Regions from separate parts of the Homo sapiens genome. Here all the other regions are linked to region 3. The links are contacts of gene promoters, found by promoter capture Hi-C in blood cells and fetal thymus (Javierre and others, 2016). All regions are on one chromosome and are shown on one strand. Each heading gives the region's core, a stretch centred on a gene start or on the middle of the fragment in contact. The rest is flanking DNA. Distances are from core to core; before and after follow the strand shown.

Region 1 (2,700 bases), core at 162-2,661, 250 kb after region 3:
TATGATAGTCGGAGTAGAAAAATGGAAAAAAGCACAAACTTAGGGCTCAGACATACCTAGGTTTGGATTCTGACTTTTTGTTCACAATCTGTGGAACTCTGTGAAAGGCACTTTACCTTTCTAAGCTTTAGTGCCCTCACTGGAAAACAGAGATAAATATGCGGCAAATATTAAGTTCCTTTTCTGGACTGGCACATGCTATTTTTGGTTCTGAGTACATAGCTGGGAATGAAACAAACCAAGCCCCTTGGCCCAAGGCATAGAACTTACATCCCAGTGTGTGAAGGATAATATCAGTGCTTCTGAGGTTATTGTAAGGATTCAAAGAGACAAAAAATGTGAATGTAAGCCCAGTTCCTGGCAGAGTAGATATCTAATAAATGGTAACAGCAATTACAATTATTACTTTATGTTCCAAATGTCAGTCTCCACAAAGAAGGCCAACTCCTGGGGTATAAGGGTTCCGTCTCAGTTTCCTTACCAGTACCCCAGTATATAGGACCCCCAGGAAGCCCTGACAATCTTTGGTGCTCAGAGTCCTGCCCTAACCTACTGTCAAACCCTTAGTTCTTGCTTCTGAATTCATCCGACAACCTATTGACTGATCTGTATGCTACCTTTATTTCTCTGCTGGGACTCCTTTGGAGAGCCTGAAAGGTGGTCTTGCTGGGATTGGAGACCCCCTGTCAGCCCACTTTGTCCTGCAGCTCGGATCATCCCAGTGGCCTGCTTAGCTCCTTTGTGCTCCCCTGGCTTCTGAGCCACAGCCATTAGATACTGGCTCTGGCCTGCCATTTGGCTCCTGACCCCTCATGTGGGGTTGGTTTTCTCTCTCCTGCCCAGCCCCAGCCCTGCCTGGCCCCTCTTGAGCTGCCAATGATTCAATTCCTCTTAATAGTCCAGCAAAAGCCCTTAGAGCTGGAAGCAGTTATACCCTGCCTTGGTCTCAACCATGGCGAAGCCCATGGTCCATTCTGAAGTAACAAGACTCACACGTAGGGAGAGAAGCCCTTGACTTCAAGGAACCACCCACTCTGTACTCTTCCCACCCTCCCCTCACATATGAAGCAGGGTGAGCCATGACTTGGGTTGATGGGTGTCATGGCAGCTTTTAGAAAGGAGAGGAAATGGGAATTTGAATGACCCATGTACACATAGCGGAATGCTGCAATCACATGCCTTTCCTCTCACTGCCAAATCTCAGTGGTGTTCTTACAAATTTTTCCTAATATATTCCTAATATATCCCCATTCAACTCCCAGGCTCTCCAAAGCAGAGGATATTGGGACTGGAAAATGAGCAATATATGTTTAAGGGAGTATGTTTCTGTATAAGAAGCCGATTTCTGAATAGTTCATCCCTCCTCGTCTTCTCTTTAGTAAAGATAACTGAGACTCAGGTAATGATGGCCAAGAATTATGAAGCACTCAGAGATCCTGTTCTAAGTAGTTTACATCTATTAATTTATGTAAGCCTCAAAACAACCCTATGAGGTAGGCACTATCAACATTCACTTTATTTCAGAGGAAGAAACCAAAGCACCAAGAGCTTAAGTAATTCGTCTTAGGACACAGAGTAGGGATAACAATGCTGGCAACCTGGCTCCTGAGCCATTATGCAGTACCACCTATGATCTACTTTCTGTTTAGTAGCCCAAACAAGAGAAATGTCTTTTATCTTATCTCAGGCAAGAGCAGTAATTTAACACGAGTATGCATTCCAGCCACATTTTGTTGTCAGAAACCGTTACCAGGGGCAGCAATGGAATGTGAGGCATGATGGTATGTGCCAGGCTGTGGTTTCTCTCCCTGTTGCATCAGGACACCTCCTTTCTCTCTTCCCTTGGAAAGTTAGGCAGCAGCCTGCTGTCTCTCCTCAGTGGCAGCCTCTGTGCATCCAGCTGGGGAGGCCCTCTCTTTGCTCAGATTGTCTCTTTTCAAAAGAACTTGGTTCCCAGAAGATTTGTAAATCAAGGTGTACTTGAAGGGGAAGCAATCATTCTGATTGGTAAATCGGGGATCAGGAACTGAGCAAGCGCAGCTCAGCCCCTCCCCTCTCTTCATGCTCCTTGTATCTACCTGAGGCACTAACATTCTGCTCTGCTTCTGCAGCAGAGATTTTAGAGGGTAGGTTCTGCTTTTGCTGATGGGCTGGAACTGCTATGGCTGAGTGGTTAAGTCTGTTGAATTTCAGAACTTGGTGTTAGGAAGCCTGTTATTGCTGCAAATTTAGGTTACGTTTTCGAACAGTTTTGTCAGTAATTAAGTTGATATTTGGATCTTCCAGTCTCAGTTGGTTCTAAACACAGACAAAGAAAAGAGCAGGTAATTATTGTTCACCCCTCATTCCTAACCATTTCCTTTCCTATCACTGCAGTTGGCTGAATTGGTCAAGAGATATAGTTCAAAAATACATAGGTACATTTACACAAATATATGTAGAGAGCTAAAAACCAATAATCACAAGTATTTCAAGGAAGGTTGCATGTGGTGGTTTCATTACTTCTATCAGCTGAGTCTACTGTGTTTGAAAGCTAAAATCTGAGAAGGCTGAGTGTTCCAAAGTAAATTATCTATTGTCTGTGGGGCTAAGTTGTCTTTTAAAGCTGTCTTTTCAAGTAGGCAGAATGGATTGCAGAAATAGGAAAAGAGCAGTGGTAGTGCCAAAAGAATGCTGGTCTTGGGTCAAAAACAAATATAA
Region 2 (2,700 bases), core at 105-2,604, 220 kb after region 3:
GACCCTGCTTAGGTTCTTTTCTGTGCTTGGGAGCCACAGCTGTGTATCTCTGAACCCTTCTTTCTCAAATGCTAGTGCTCTGTGACTTCCAGTTTTCTGGCAAATTCACCGTTGCCCGGCATGAGCCCTCCAAGTGCCCTTCTTGTGGTTAGCTCCAAAGCTGAATGTCTGTGTGCAAGCCCCTTAATAGAATCTAGACAAGATCAGGCCTCTCCCTCTGCCAAACCCCTTTCTGTGTGGACACAGTTTCTTGACGGCCCAATCTGTAAGACTGGACAATGGAGAAAGTCAGCGTTTAAGAGGTTAATGCCCCTCGCCCGATTGCCCCACTTCTCTCCTTCCTGGGTGGTGTGAGTTGGGGCCTCTCAGAGACTGAAGTCTAGAGGGCCCTCAGGCATTCAGGCCCTCCGAGCCCAAACAGTTCCACATGGCATGTGGGTTTTGATGTGAGAAGCTGCACATAGGAGATGAGTGTGTTGCTATTTATCAGACACTAAACTCCTTGCTCAGAAAAGCCAAGCCCCTGCACTCTCGCCCCATTAGAGTTGCTGACCATGAAACATACTCATCCGCGGAGCCACAGATAACTGCGGGTGGAAGTTGAGACCCTCGATGACCTCTGTGGCAGGTACTGTGTCAGGCACTCCACTCTGGGCAGTAGATAACACCACCACCATTTTACCAATGAGGAAATGGACTCAGATTAAGTGGTATGTTTGGTGTCACAGTAAGCAAGCAGTGAAGCTAGGCTTTGATCCCAAGTTTCTCTGACTCACTCCAAAGACCAGAGTCCTTCCTCTGATGCTTCACAGCTTAACAACATGCAGATACATGACATGTTCCAATCTCAACTTCATCCTCTGTGGACTCAGAATTAGGATGGCGTGATAGATTGTTAAATATGACCACAGATTCCTCCCATCCCCGTGTGCATGTCCTGTGCACGGCAAGTTTGCTGTTTCTGCCACCATGAAGTGGAGGCTTACTTCACTCCTTCAAACTGGGCTTGGCCAGGGAGCTAGTTTTGGTGAACGTGATGTTAGCAAATGTGATGGGACATGAGGCTTGCCAGGTGCTTGTGCATTGGGACTTGCCTTCTCTTGCTGCTGCAGACCCTTCCTCCCCCACAGAGCAGCTAGAGGCATAAAGCGTAGGCAGCAGCTAGCACCAACTGCCAGGAGGGCAGATGATGCCATCTTAGACCAGCCAGCCCCCAGCTGATCCTCCAGCTGACTAGAGCTGCATGAATGATTCAGGAGAGACTAGGAGAAGAACTGCTCAGCTCAACCCAACTTAATTATGTATAGATTTGTGAGCTGATAAATCACTGGGCTGGCTTGTTATACAGCAATAACTGGTATGGAGGGTAACACCCTCCCTTGGGCATAGGAACTGCAGAGGTGCATGTGTGCGCACACACACACACACACACACACCATCCCATGTTGATTTAGCTACTTGGTTGATTTCACTACTTGGGAGAAGGCCGACCACTAAACGCTCAGAGAGTGCCCCACCTGGATGGCTGTGCCTTTGTTTCCTATCTTTCTGTCACTTCCCATTACTTTCTTGTTTCAGACTCTTTGTGCCAAAGTCCCTGTGTTGGCGGGGGGTTGGGGAGGGGGCTGGTGATCGAGGGGGTGGCACTCAGCATTTCGCTGGGACTCATTGCCCCTCTATAGGATAATGGGATAATGGATTAGTTCTCTCGCTCATTGTTGGGCCTTGCACATTCTAGAGCCTCAGACCTTGCAAGAATTCACTGTTTTTCCTTCTTTCCGTTAAGCTCTGGGTTCAGCGGTTTTTGCTGGGTTTTGGGGAGGAGAGGATAGTGGGAGTGACAGGAAGATAGACTCTGATTTCCCCATGAACGAGGATGAGATGAGCTAGAAAATGATGAAGAACTTCCACTCCAGGGTAGAGTTGATTTGTCTATAAGAATAAAGATTAATTTCTCCCATACTCATTCTGCCCTCTGCTCATCTAGTTTTTTTTTTTTTTTTTTTTTTTTGAGACGGAGTCTCCCTCTGTCGCCCAGGCTGGAGTGCAGTGGCGTGATCTCTGCTCCCTGCAAGCTCCGCCTCCCAGGTTCACGCGATTCTCCTGCCTCAGCCTCCTGCATAGCTGGGACTACAGGTGCCCGCCACCACGCCACCACACCTGATTAATTTTTAATAGAGACAAGGTTTCACCGTGTTAGCCAGGATGCTCTCGATCTCCTGACCTCGTGATCTGCCCGCCTTGGCCTCCCACAGTGCTGGGATTACAGGCATGAGCCACCGCCCCCGGCCTGCTCATCTAGTTTTTAAGAGAAGTTTGTATTCCCCTTATCCTTATGAATGTAACATAGGCCTTATTTCTTATGAATAAAACCCTTGTCTAATTAAGTTTTCTGTCTGGTAAAAACAATGCCAAAGGTATAAATGTCCCTTCCCTCCCAATAATAGACCTGTTGATTGAGTAGGTTTATTGTTGTTATTATTATGTGATGTTAATGCACCTAAGCAGTGTCTTAGATTGTCCAAAGAAAGCATCAACGTATCTCAGATTATCCATGTTTCGTACTTTTTTAAAAAAGAAAGTAAGACGTGGTTTGATATTTTTGCTGAAATCACCCAGCAACCATCTACAACAAGGGATGGTGAACTTTCTATAAAGGGAAAGACAGTAAATATTTTAGGCCTGGCTTTCATGTGGTTA
Region 3 (2,700 bases), core at 48-2,547:
CCCACTCTAAACTGGAAGGGACCTGGGGGTGGGGGCGCAGGGATCCAGGGTGGCAGAAGTTCAGAAAAGAGTTACTGCTCTTTCTCAGACAGGAGAGAATCTCGTTTGGGGTAAGGCTGGAGAAGATGAGTGGGGAGGGCTTTTTTTTTTTTTTTTTTTTTTTCTCAGAGGGATTGGAAGGGGAGATTTTAGAGACGCTGGGAGGCGTCTGGGGGGCCTCCGGGCACGGCGGCTGGAGGAGGCTCTCAGTCCTACCTGCAGGTCGGCCCCGTAGAAGGCAGCCATGGACGCATCGGCCACCAGCAGCGTCTCCACGAAGCGCGCCTCAGACACAAACCGCTTGGTCCTACTCGTGGCCCCCAGGGGCGGTGGCGGCTCGCTAGCGCCTTCTGCCTCCTCTTCTTGGCTCTCCTCCTCGCTGTCCTCCTGGTGGTCTCCTCTCTCCTGCCTCTGACCCTCTCCCGTCTCCACCTCCCACTCGGGTCCTCGCGGGAGGGGGCGGGCTCCGGCGGGACCCCAGCGCTGCAGGCGGTGCGGCTGAGCCAGGGAGCCCCCCGCGCCCTGCGGCTGGATGGTGAACTCCTCGCCGTCCAGCAGGAAGGAGCCGCTCAGCCCGCGGCACAGGCTGACCGCCGCCAGCGACTCGGGCTCCCCATTCACGGTGCCGGAGAAGAAGCAGCCGCGCAGCCCCCGCTCGCCCCCGGTCGCCCGGCCGGAGCCCCCGAGGCGCTCGATCTTGAACTCGGGCGCTAGGAAGCTGTCGTCGGGCGCCAGGCGCAGCACGAAGCCCTTGCCGAAGGCGGACAGGTGGAGCGCGAGCTCGCCCGCGCTGCCGGGCAACCGCGTGGGCACCACCAGCTCCGAGGCCTGCCCCCCGGCTGCGGGCCGGGCCGGGGCGCCGCGGGCCAGCGGCAGCAGCAGCAGCAGCAGCAGCAGGAGCGGAGGCCACCGGGGGGCGGCGGGGGCGGGGAGCATGGGGGCTGCGGCGGTGGCTGCGCGCAGGAGAGGGAAGAAGCCCGCCAGGCGCGGGCAGGTGCTGGCGGCCCGAGCGCGGCCCGGCCGCTCTCTCCAGGAAAAGCGGAATCAATCGGGTGCAAGGCCGACTCGGCCCGCGGGGCCCGGCGGCGGGAGCGCTCCCCCGGCGGCCCCTCTGGCTGGCGCAGCCCGCTCCTCCCGCGCCGCCGCCCCCGAGCCGAGCGCGAGCAGCTGGCCCCGGCCCGCGTGCGCCCGTCCTCCGCCCCTGCCCGCGCCAGCCCCGCGCAGCCGCCTCCTGCCTCCTCCCCACCCCGGGAAGCACCGAGTGGGCTGCCGAGCCCTTCTTATTTATACTTCCTTCCCGGCTTGACATAAGAGGTTTATTTTTGATCTCTCACTATTCCCGTTTCCCCTCCCCTGGGATCAGAGAGAGAAACTGAAAAGAGGGAGAGAGAGTGGAGAAAAAAAAATTGGGATGAAATGCAAAACCAATCAGGCAGCGAGACCCGTCCGCCACCCGCCCCCCTGAAGTGTCAACTACAACTTCTTTCCTTTCCCTCTACGCGTGGACCCACGTTAACCCCTACCATGCTGGACTGACCCTTTAGAAAGAGTCCCTGGGAGACCCCAACCGCTTTCTCCTCTGCGGCCAAGAGTCCAGGATGCATCTTCCGAAGAGGCTCGTGCACTGGTCTCAGCGACCCTGTTCGGATCCCTGCAGAGTCCGACTGCAGAGCCCGACACTGTTGGGATCCCTGCAGATGCCTCCGGAGATCCGACTGTGTGGGGAGAAGGTTCCTGAGCTTTTCATTGTAAAGCATAAAGGGAGAGGAGGAAAAGGTCATGCTAAAATCATGCCCTCCTCTCATCACTACTGCACAGCCTTCCTAACTTTCACTCCAAACTGAAGATGGGGAAAACAAAAACAAAACAAAAAACAACCCACCTGGTTAACCCTAAGAGGGACTCTCACTGTCCTGTTAGAGGGCAGGTGGGGCAGAGGCCAGCACAGTGGTAAGTTACCAGCACTGAGGTTGGAAGTTAGCATTTCCCCAAGAGGGAAACAGACCTCCAGTCCCTGAAAAAGGTCTTCTCTTCTGGATACTGCTAGTTGCCCGGGACTTCAAGTAAGGTGGCAGGCCCTTTCACTGCGTTGCCACAGCCCCAGGAACAAATGTGTATGAGGTGAATTTATTCTGTCCCATGTCACCACTGCCCCCTAGGGAAGGGGGTAGTATTCAGGAAGAGAGGGATGACATGGTCTCAAGACCACAAAACTGCATCCCATCCCAGTCTCAATGACACAGGTCTGGATTGGGTGGAGGGCCCTGTTCTCTACCTACAAACTCTAGACTCATCCACCAACTGTGCCTTTCTCTGAGTTGTCAATGTGGGTGATGCATTAGGAACCGCTGGGATCAGGGCCTTTAAATCCTTTGCCAATTCACCTGCCCCCAGGTACCCAGCTCTGTGCTTATGCTGGGGATGTTGACAGTCGAGGTCATCGCTGATTCTTTTCAGCCCATCTGACCCCTTCCTGCAGTGTGGTGGTTCAGCATGCATCTGAGACTCTCAGGGCTTGTTACCTCCAAAGAGGAGGCTCTTGCCCAGGGGAAAGTGCTGCCAAATTCCCTCTAAGTATCCCCCCTCTCTTTGCTTTCTCAGAAACACAGAGGGACAGCTGTGAATTAGATGAAAGGATGAACTTCCCAACCTAGCATGGTG
Region 4 (2,700 bases), core at 20-2,519, 220 kb before region 3:
TTCCCCAAATCTGATCACCCCAATCTCTTGCTTCAGCGCCTGCCACGGCTTGCAGTATAAAGCAGGAACTCCTTCACGACCGACACGGCCACGTTATCTGGCCCCTGCCCGTCCGTGCAGTCTCAGTCTCCAGTGCAGTCCTCATGCCTTCCCCATGCTCAGTGTGAGGGTTTCCTAAATGTGCCTTTGCTCTTTTTTCTTTTTTTTTGAGACCGAGTTTCACTTTTGTTGCCCAGGCTGGAGTGCAATGGCGCGATCTCAGCTCACTGCAACCTCCGCCTCCCGGGTTCAAGCAATTCTCCTGCCTCACCCTCCCGAGTAGCTGGAATTACAGGCATGCGCCACCGTGCCCGGCTAATTTTTTGTACTTTTAGTAGAAACGGGGTTTCACCATGTTAGCCAGGCTGGTCTTGAACTCCTGACCACGGGTGATCTGCCTGCCTTGGCCTCCCAAAGTGCTGGGATTATAAGGTGTGAGCCACCACGCCCGGCCACCTTTGTTCTCTTTAAACATGCGGCATTCTCCACCCCTTCAGGCCATAGGTGGCCAGGCCTACGTGATGTCGAGGCTTGGTTCATAACTCACTTCGTTTCCGGACTCCCAGCCCATCCTCTCCCACAGCTTTCTACCCAGTCCTCTGTGGGACCCTTCTTGTCACGCTGTAATTGGTGGTTTTCATATCTCTCCACATGTACACTGTGAACCTGAAGGCTGGGTCATAGATCGCATCACAGATGCCCAGAGATTGTTGAGTGAATGAGTTGATGGGGGTTGAGTACGTGGCTGGATGTGAGCAGGCTGGGAAACTGTTAGAAAGGTCAGGTCGATTAACAGTGAACGCAGAAGGCCTGGGTGGGTCACAAGACCTCACCTGGCAACTCTTGGGAATTCTTTTAGGCTGTGGAATGGGACGCAAAGGATCTCACAAAAACAGCTTTTGGGAAGTCATTTTCTGGTGGCAACAGATTACAGTGAAGCGAGATTGGGCATAGCCTAGGTTGGAAAACTGAGCTTTGGCCTTGGCGTGCGATTCCGTGGGGAGGTGGCTGTAAGAAAGGCCAGAAGGGGGCCTGGCGCGGTGGCTCATGCCTATAATCCCAGCACTTTGGGAAGCCGAAGCAGGCAGATCACCTGAGGTCAGGAGTTCGAGACCAGCCTGACCAACATGGTGAAACCCCATTTCTACTAAAAATACAAAAATTAGCTGAGCATGGTGGCATGCACCTGCACTCCCAGCTACTTGGGGGCGGCTGAGGTGGGAGGATCGCTTGAGTCTGGGAGGCGGAGGTTGTGGTGAGCCAAGATCATGCCACTACACTCCAGCCTAGGCAACAGAGTAAGACTCCATCTCAAGAAAAAAGAAAGGCCAGAAGGTGATGGACGCTGGGGCAGTGAGAGTGGACCAGGGCTCGGGTGGGCACGCGAGTGATGTGGAGGCAGAGGCTGGGTTTAGTGCTCCGGGGTCGGGGAGGTGCCCTGGCTGGGTGGTTCAGTAACCTTTTGACCTTCCTGAGAGGTGAGGGAAAATGAAGCGGGTCTTCATGCCTTTCTCTTGTCACGCACATTTTCTATTTTAAATATGTATTTTTCCAATGTTTTATTTTGAAATTTTTCAAACCTACAAAAATGTTGTAAATACAATGAATGAAAAAAAGGACTAGTACAGTGAACACTTTTTTTTTTGAGACAGAGTCTCACTCTGTCCCCAGGCTGGAGTGCAGCAGCGTGATCTCAGCTCACTGCAACCTCTGCCTCCCGGCTTCAAGCAATTCTCCTGCCTCAGCCTCCGGAGTAGCTGGGACTACAGGTGTGCGCCACCTTGCCCGGCTAAATTTTTGTATTTTTAGTGGAGATGGGGTTTCACCATGGTGGCCTGCCTGGTCTCGAACTCGTGACCTCGTGATCCCCCCATGCCTTGGCCTCCCAAAGTGCTGGGATTACAGGTGTGAGCCACCGCACCTGGCTGTACAGTGAACACTCTTATACCTTTGATCTACATTCAGTGATTGAGTTAATCACGTTTGCTTTCTCTCTGTTTGCACCCGCATGTATTTTTCAGAACCATTTCCCAACTGGGGGCAGCCATTGTGAGGCTTCCCACCAGGTGCCTCGGCCTGTGTCTCCAAAAACACGGATGCTGTCCCACACTGAGAAATGGCGGCATTGCTTTGTGCTGCGAGCTGACGTACGCGTCATAAATGTCCTCCAATCATGCCCATCATGTTCTTCTTTAGACGTTTTTTTTTTTGTTTTTTTTTTTGAGACGCACTCTTTCGCCCAGTCTGGAGTGCAGTGGCACAATCTAAGCTCACTGCAACCTCCACCTCCCAGGTTCAGGTGATTCTCTTGCCTCAGTCTCCTGAGTAGCTGGAATTACAGGCACCTGCCACCACGCCTGGCTAATTTTTGTATTTTTAGTAGAGACGGGGTTTCACCACGTTGGCCAGGCTGGTCTCAAACTCCCAACCTTGTGATCCTCTCGCCTGGGGCTCCCAAAGTGCTAGGATTACAGGCGTGAGCCACCATGCCCAGCCTTCTTCGGAGCTTTTTAAAAAAAGTCCTAGGATGCAGTCAAGGGTCACGCCTTGTATTTAGTCATTAGGTTTCTTTAACCTCATTTTAATCAAGAACAGTTTCTCTACGCCTTTTATTTTTTGGTTTTTTATGGCATTGACATTTTTGAAAAGTTCGGGCCAGTT

Evidence for each region. Contacts are between HindIII fragments. The CHiCAGO score rates a contact against its expected background, and 5 or more counts as called.
Region 1: a fragment that was not itself captured here is called in contact with the fragment with the promoter of ADAMTS8 in region 3 in 1 of 17 cell types (M0 macrophages); the score reaches 6.0 in M0 macrophages.
Region 2: a fragment that was not itself captured here is called in contact with the fragment with the promoter of ADAMTS8 in region 3 in 1 of 17 cell types (M0 macrophages); the score reaches 5.4 in M0 macrophages.
Region 4: a contact is called between a fragment that was not itself captured here and the fragment with the promoter of ADAMTS8 in region 3, in 1 of 17 cell types (naive CD8 T cells). The highest score is 5.1, in naive CD8 T cells.

What each region holds. Positions count from the first base shown.
Region 1 is chr11:130,675,901-130,678,600 of GRCh38, forward strand. The region is part of intron 1 of LINC02873 (long intergenic non-protein coding RNA 2873); the gene reads left to right. Among named protein-coding and RNA genes, the nearest start is that of LINC02873, 4.3 kb to the left of the region's middle. The HindIII fragment of the contact is 2,576 bases long and covers 124-2,699 here.
Region 2 is chr11:130,650,103-130,652,802 of GRCh38, forward strand. No RefSeq gene overlaps it. Among named protein-coding and RNA genes, the nearest start is that of MIR8052, 15 kb to the right of the region's middle. The HindIII fragment of the contact is 8,367 bases long and covers 1-2,700 here.
Region 3 is chr11:130,427,312-130,430,011 of GRCh38, forward strand. ADAMTS8 (ADAM metallopeptidase with thrombospondin type 1 motif 8) reads right to left here and starts at 1,298. Exons shown (of 9, transcript NM_007037.6): 1 at 256-1,298. The coding sequence starts at 975. The HindIII fragment of the contact is 10,262 bases long and covers 1-2,700 here.
Region 4 is chr11:130,203,462-130,206,161 of GRCh38, forward strand. The region is part of intron 16 of ST14 (ST14 transmembrane serine protease matriptase); the gene reads left to right. Among named protein-coding and RNA genes, the nearest start is that of ST14, 45 kb to the left of the region's middle. The HindIII fragment of the contact is 5,888 bases long and covers 1-2,700 here.